2 separate regions of the Homo sapiens genome follow, and region 2 is linked to region 1. Evidence: promoter capture Hi-C in 16 types of primary human blood cells and fetal thymus (Javierre and others, 2016). All regions are on one chromosome and are shown on one strand. The core of a region is centred on a gene start or on the middle of the fragment in contact, and the rest is flanking DNA. Distances in the headings are between cores, read along the strand shown. Region 1 holds the start of GCFC2 (GC-rich sequence DNA-binding factor 2). Region 2 overlaps MRPL19 (mitochondrial ribosomal protein L19).

What was found. Contacts are between HindIII fragments. The CHiCAGO score rates a contact against its expected background, and 5 or more counts as called.
Region 2: a contact is called between a fragment that was not itself captured here and the fragment with the promoter of GCFC2 in region 1, in 3 of 17 cell types (non-activated CD4 T cells, activated CD4 T cells and total CD8 T cells). The highest score is 6.2, in non-activated CD4 T cells.

What each region holds. Positions count from the first base shown.
Region 1 is chr2:75,708,911-75,712,614 of GRCh38, reverse strand. GCFC2 (GC-rich sequence DNA-binding factor 2) reads left to right here and starts at 1,700. Exons shown (of 17, transcript NM_003203.5): 1 at 1,700-2,024. The coding sequence starts at 1,760. LOC105374813 (a long non-coding RNA gene) reads right to left here and starts at 1,676. Exons shown (of 3, transcript XR_940260.2): 1 at 1,581-1,676. RefSeq lists an enhancer at 319-890 and a silencer at 1,869-2,168. The HindIII fragment of the contact is 8,873 bases long and covers 18-3,704 here.
Region 2 is chr2:75,648,847-75,652,550 of GRCh38, reverse strand. It overlaps MRPL19 (mitochondrial ribosomal protein L19), which reads right to left. Exons shown (of 6, transcript NM_014763.4): 3 at 291-409; 4 at 1-28. It also overlaps the pseudogene SUPT4H1P1. Among named protein-coding and RNA genes, the nearest start is that of MRPL19, 3.9 kb to the right of the region's middle. The HindIII fragment of the contact is 2,419 bases long and covers 705-3,123 here.

The DNA of each region.
Region 1 (3,704 bases), core at 451-2,950:
AGCGAAAGAACAAAGCTTCCACACTGTGGAAGGGGACCGGAGCGGGTTGCCACTGCTGGCTGGGGCAGCCTGCTTTTATTCTCTTATCTGGCCCCACCCACATCCTGCTGATTGGTAGAGCCCAGCGGCCTGTTTTGACAGGGCCGTGATTGGTGCGTTTACAATCCCTGAGCTAGATACAAAAGTTCTCCACATCCCCATCAGATTAGTTAGATACAGAGTTTCCACACACAGGTTCTCCAAGGCCTCACCAGAGCAGCTAGATAGAATGTCTATTGGTGCACTCACAAACCTTGAGCTAAACACAGGGTGCTGATTGGTGGGTTTACAAACCTTGAGCTAGATACAGAGTGCCGATTGGTGTTTTTACAATCCCTGAGCTAGACATAAAGGTTCTCCAAGGCCCCACCAGAGCAGCTAGATACAGAGTGTCGATTGGTGCACTCATAAACCTTGAGCTAAACACAGGGTGCTGATTGGTGTGTTTACAAACCTTGAGCCAGATACAGAGTGCTGATTGGTGTATTTACAATCCCTGAGCTAGACATAAAGACTCTCTATGTCCCCACCAGACTCAGGAGCCCAACTGGCTTCACCTAGTGGATCCCGCACCGGGGCTGCAGGTGGAGCTGCCTGCCAGTCCGGCGCCGTGCGCTCGTACTCCTCAGCCCTTGGGTGGTCGATGGGACTGGGCGCCGTGGAGCAGGGGGTGGTGCTCGTCGGGGATGCTCGGGCAGCACAGGAGCCCATGGAGTGGATGGGAGGCTCAGGCATGGCGGGCTGCAGGTCCCGAGCCCTGCACCGCGGGAAGGCAGCTAAGGCCCGGCGAGAAATCGAGCACAGCGCCGGTGGGCCGGCACTGCTAGGGGACCCAGTACACCCTCTGTAGCCGCTGGCCCGGGTGCCAAGTCCCTCACTGCCCGGGGCTGGCAGGGCCGGCCGGCTGCTCCGAGTGCAGGCCCGCCAAGCCCATGCCCACCCGGAACTCCAGCTGGCCCGCTGTCACCTCTCAATATGACGCCACTAAACATGGAGTTGATAACAGGTGTGCAGTAGCTCAACATTATATAGTATTTCTACCATACAGATACAGTAGTAGACAGAGCTTGATGAATATAGAACAAATTTGCGTCAGACAATAGCTTTTTGTTTTTAGATAGTTTCTTTAAGGGTGAAAACATTTAACCAGGCTCTCTTGAAGCCCTGCTGCCTGGGGGAAGTCATTTGATTTTTGCTAGTCTGTATGCATTGTTTATGTACAGACTTTATGGTTTTGTTCTCAAAGGCATCTCCTCCTACCCCGAGCCTCACACTGCTGGGGTTTCGTTTGTTTTAAATCTTGGTTGGAGGGGGCACTCTCTCCAGAAAGTAAAAGACAACGGATCTGGCTCCAGTCCAGGACGGAAAGCATAACGCTTGATTTCTGGATGGGGTTTGCACAAGGACAGCACGTGAGTTCTGCTCTCCGTGGGACTCAGACCGGATAGGCCGTGAAAATCTCTAAGGTGTCAGTCCACGCAACCTAACCTGGCAAAGGGAATGCTTTGCAAACTCAGGCCCCAGAACAGAACTCGGCCTACCAGATCCAGGGAGCCAAAGCACGCAGGCGCAGACAGAGTAGCGGTGAGCAGAAGGCAGGCGGGACGGGCGCGCGCACTCGGCGGCCAGGCGCGGCGGGAGCGCGCCCTAGGGGGCGGGCACTGAAGCTGCGGCTTGCGGTTCAGCGGGTTCTAGGGCGCCGGGCGCTCGGGCCTCGGCCATGGCTCACAGGCCGAAAAGGACTTTTCGGCAGCGCGCGGCTGATTCCAGCGACAGCGATGGCGCCGAGGAGTCGCCTGCTGAGCCTGGGGCGCCGAGGGAACTTCCGGTCCCGGGTTCTGCGGAGGAAGAGCCGCCCTCTGGAGGAGGCCGCGCGCAGGTGGCGGGACTGCCCCACCGGGTTCGGGGCCCTCGTGGCCGGGGCCGGGTCTGGGCGAGCTCCCGGCGTGCCACCAAAGCGGCTCCCCGCGCGGACGAAGGCTCAGGTGTCCAGGGAGACGCGGGGAAGCGGGGAGGTGACGGCACAGGGCGGGAAGGGGCCGCGGGGTCTCTGGATCCTTCTCTGGGGGTTCTATAACTTGCTGCCGACCACAAGCCATGCTGAGTCTTATCCAGAAAGACTTATCCAGAAGGTAGTGAGCGAGAAAATAGCTCGAGCACTTGCCCGCTATCTGCATCTGCCTTTTGGACTCCTTGGGGGAAATAAAACAATCGTGTACAGTTGGGAGGCTCTTCGTTTTCACCATCAGTTGACTCCATCAGTTATAACTAACACAGTTATCAAAGTTTATGAAGAACCTAAACTGTCACAACAAAGTTCAATAATTTATAATACTATTAAGTGGGCAGAAGTTATATGTACCTTTTAGACACTTGACCAACTTATCTTTCTTGAAAACATTTAGCCAGAGTAGTACAGGAATCTAGGTTTTGGGACATTCCCCTTTGTTTATTTTCTTTTTTCACCAGTTATTTGCAAAAACTAATAGTAATATATACAACACAAAGAAGCATGATAGAGATTCATGACACTGTAGATGGTACCAGTAATGGTGTTAGATATAGTGTCGTCATTTTGAAGTACCTTTGAGTTCTTAAATACAGGTGTAAGGCAGCATAAAGTTGTTTAAATAAAATGTGCTGCTCTGAGTTGGAATTGTAGCTTAATGAGGAATACGGTTTTTGGTTAGTCTTGAGAGCTAAAATCTTCCTATTATTTTTTATTGTCATTAAAGTGATTTTTATTAATTTATTGAGAAGTAAAAAATGTATATACTTATAGTGTACAACATGATGTTTGAAATGTGTCTACAGTGACTAAATGGAGCTAATTAACATTTGCTTTACCTTAGGTACTTACTTTTTTTTGTGGTGAGAACACTTACTATCTACTCTTACTAATTTTCAAGTATGCAATGCATTGTTATTAATTTTAGTCACCGTGTTGTAGAATAGAATTCCTCTTGTCTAATTAAAATGTGTGCCCTTTGACCAGTATCTTCCCAACTACCCTCAACCTCACTCAGTCCCTTCTAACCACTACTCGACTCTCTGCTTCTGTGATTTCTGATTTCCACTTTTTTAGATTACATATGTGAGATCATGTGGTGTTTGTCTCTCTGTGCCTGTCTTATTTCATGTAACATAATGTCCTCCAGGTTTATGATCTTCGTGATTTCTTGGTCTTTCTTGTGACCTTCTATTTGTCTAAAGTTTTCATGACCTTTTATATTTGTTTTCTGGTTAAACTTTGTAGATGAAAGTTGAAGTCAGGAGTTCCTTTTCTCTTGCCTTCTAGAATAGTGGTTCTCAAACTCTTTGGGAATTGGACCTCTTTTAGACTCTTAGAAATGATTAAGGATTCCAAAGAGCTTTTGTTTCAGTAGGTTATACCTATCAATATTTATCACACTAAAAATAAAATTTATTAATTCACTTACAAAAAATCTATTACATGTAAGGATAAGTAAGATTTTTGTGAAAAGTATTACCCCAAAAAAGGAAGAGTAGCATTGTTTTCAATTTACAGATCTCTTTAATGTCTGGCAAAATATTAATAGAAGACAGATGAATTGTCATAGGTGTTTCTGCTTTTAATCTCTTGTGCTATTTTGTTTTGGTTGAAGTATTTGAAGAAAATACAGCCTCTGACAGATACATGATTA
Region 2 (3,704 bases), core at 665-3,164, 60 kb after region 1:
TCAGCTGTAGTAACACGAAGAATACTTCCTACAAATTCAAAAGAGAAGTGAACTTTTTTTTCAGCACACCCAGCTGAGAAGTAAACTTTATATAAGATGCAGAAACAAACAAATAGCATTTCTAGATAACTTAACTTCCTAAATGTTTTAATGTAGGAATAAATACTTCATATGAGCATAACCCAGATATGTAAAAAACAATCTTCTTTTGCTTTTTAAGAAAACTAACCATCCAATCACAAACTAGCCATCCTAATTACTAATAATAAAAACATACAGCTCTTACTGACCAACATAGAACTCTGGAATGTGGAGTACTTTTCTCCTTTCTAACATATCTTTTCTTTCTATTTGAAATTTCAGAGGATCTGTTCTTCCCCTTCGAGGAATGAATTCAGGACTCAAGAACCTGTAAAAAATACAAATAAATAATTAAAAGTAAACTCAAAAGGCTGCTAGAAGAAAAATTGTTGCTTTTCAAAGAAATTAAATATGATATTGATGTATTTTATTCTTCATTGTCTAAATAAAAGTCAATCTTATTTCTAAAATTGTTAATGCTCATGAAAATAGCTAACAATTCCTGAGTACTCACCTGGTATTTTGTTAAAAGCTTTATGAAACATCTATAGCATAAATTAATCCTTCTAGCAACCATGTGGGTTTGGTGTCATCTCCTTTTTACAGAGCAAGAAACTGAAGCTTGAAAAAGGTAAATAACTAACCCATTGCTACATTAGCTATAAATCTGTCAAATCAAGATTTAAATGTAGGTATGTTGGTCAGTCTCCAAAGCCTATAACCATTACTACAGGCCTCACACTGAGCTATACATGCTATAATAAATTATGTCAGAAAAGACATCAACATATAAATCACTAATTATAAATTGACTTTTAAAATGATCTTCCTGATCAGAGAAGATGGCCCTGGAGATGGTGCTGAAGGACCTGGGGCATCTGCAGGCTTGTTGGCTGTGTTTGCTGGTCAAGACTATAGACCAGTTTGAATATGAAGGTTCTGACAACTGTAACACCTATCTACAGACGAAGAGTAACTGAGATGGTATATGACTGCACTAGCTCTTCCTTTGATGGAATCATTGCAATGATGAGTCCAGAGGACAGCTAGGTCTCCAAGTGGCAGCGAGTCAGTAACTTTAAGCCAGGTACATATGCGGTGTCATTCACTGGTCACCTGCCCCAAGGAATCGTGTAGGAGCTGAAAAGTCGAGGAGAGACCTACAAATCCAGAGACACAGCTGCAGCACATCGTGTCCCTGAACCATTTTCTCTTCCTTGGATGACAGGTGCGGGTGGGAGGGATTTGGGTTGGTGGATTAACAGATCGAACTGAAGAGAAAGTAGGATGCTGATTTTCCTATCCATGGCCCAGGGATGCACCTTGCCCATGGCAAGGACTCTAGGTCAAATGCCAATAAATATGAACCTCTAGAAAGTTCTTAAGGCCATGATACATTCCTTGCCTCCCTCTCCCTTTCTCTTAGGCACAGTAAGAGCTTGTTTATGCTGTAAGAATCTTCCCAGAACAGCAGAGGCCCTTCTACTCCCTACTGACTGTCTCTGAGCCTTCTGTACTGCAGCCTTTCTAGTGTGCTTCCTTGCTTCCAATCAGAAGGTGCTGTCCAGAGGCTAGGTAATCCCATCAGCTTGGTAGTCCTGGGGTCTCGTGGTTGTATCTTTCTGCCCTCTAGACCTGGCACAGCAGTATCCCTTGAAGAAATCCTGAGGCTTCATAGTGCTCTTCGCTCCTTGACCACGTTTAATAATTCTTGCTTTTCCCCCTCCTCGTCTCTTCTCTTCTGTTTACCGCTCTTCCTATACCTTAGGCCAGTCTCACATCCCTGCATTTCACATTCTCCTAACTGGAGACCCTTGGGCCTTAGGCAACTGCTGGGTCCTAGTCTGCCTTGTTTGTGCCTCTGTAGGAGGTAAGTCCTTCCTTTTCTCCTCTGGCCTAGTAGGGGACCTTGGGTAATGTCCCATTTTGGCCAAGGTGAGGTATTCGTTTTAGAATAAAAAATTCACCATAAATTCTCATTTACTTAAATTTCCACAGAAATCCTGTTAGTGTCCCCGTTTTGATTTCCCTAAGTTGCTGGTTCTCCCTCTGTAAAAAGAGAATGATTAGACCCTGCCTGTTTACCTCAGGATTGTTGTGATTGTAGAAATGAAGCTATGTGAAAATTGTGTAAGTCTTACAAAGGTGAAATCCTTTTGCTTAAAAAATAATAATCTTCTTTTTTTCTTCTTTAACTGATTTTAAGCTCATTATGAAATATTTAATCTACATAAAAAGTATAAATGACAGTACAATGAATATTCATGTCTTTACCACCCACCTCAAGAAATAAATTATCAATATTGTGGAAGCCCCTGTGTATTTAGGATAGTTCATTACTATCCTAAATTTGGTGATTATTCCCATGAATTTCTTTCTCTTCCTCAATTTTCTACTTTGAAAATTTTAAAGCCTACCAAAAAATAGTAATACAATGAACACCTGTAGATCTTTCATCCACTTTTACCAACTGCTAAAATTTTGCTATATTTGCTTTATATACACATATCATTTTTTTCTGAACCATTTGAAAATGTCAGCCAGGTGTGGTAGCTTACGTCTGTTATCCCAACACTTGGGAGGCCGAGGAGGGTAGATCGTTTGAGCCCAGGAGTTCCAGACCAGCCTAGGCAACATAGTGAGACCTCATTCTACAACAAAAAAATTTTTAAAATAGCCAGGCATGGTGGCGGGCACCTGTAGTCCCAGCCACTTGGGAGACTGAGTAGGGAGGGGCCCAGGAGTAGGAGTTGCAGAGCCAAGATCATGCCACTGCACTCCAGCCTGGATGACAAAGCAAGGCTCTGTCTCAAAAAAATGGAACAGCAAGGCATTTCATCCCTCAATAATTTAGAAGGCTTATGCTAAGAATAAGGACTTGCTCCTATATTATCACGATACCCTTCTGACACCTATAAAAGTCAGCATTAATTTGATAACATAATCTAATACAAAGGTATCCAATCATCTGGCTTCCCTGGGACACACTGGAGGAATTATCTTGAGCCACACATAAAAGACACCAACAATAGCTGGTAAGCTTAAAAAAAAAAGGCACAAAAAAAATCTCATATGTTTTAAGAAAGTTTACAGATTTGTGTTGGGCCACATTTAAAGCTGTCCTGGGCTGTGGGTTGGACAAGCTTGGTCTAATACAGAGTTCATACTCAAATGTATGTCATTATCCTGGGAAGGTATTTTACATCTATTCGTTGCCCAATTCAAAATACAATCAAGCTTCACACATATTTGGTCATTAGTCTCTCAGACTAGGACTTTTTTCCAACTTTGTATTTTTATAACATTAACTTTTTTGAACAGTCAAGGCCTACTATCTCATCTCTGGATTCTGGATTGTTTCCACATGCCTAGACTAAGGTTAAATAATTTTAGTAAGAATATTACAGGGAGATGATGTGAACAACTTATTCTGTCACATCAGGAGACACATAATATCAACTGGTACCAATACTGGTAAAGTTAGGTTTGACTGTTTGGCAAAGTTTCAGAAGGCCCCCCTTACATTTCTTTTTACTTTTCATATGCATGTATGTCTGGGCAACATATATTGTTTCGTATAATTTTGTTTTTGTTTTTTTCTGAGACAGAGTCTTGCTCTATCG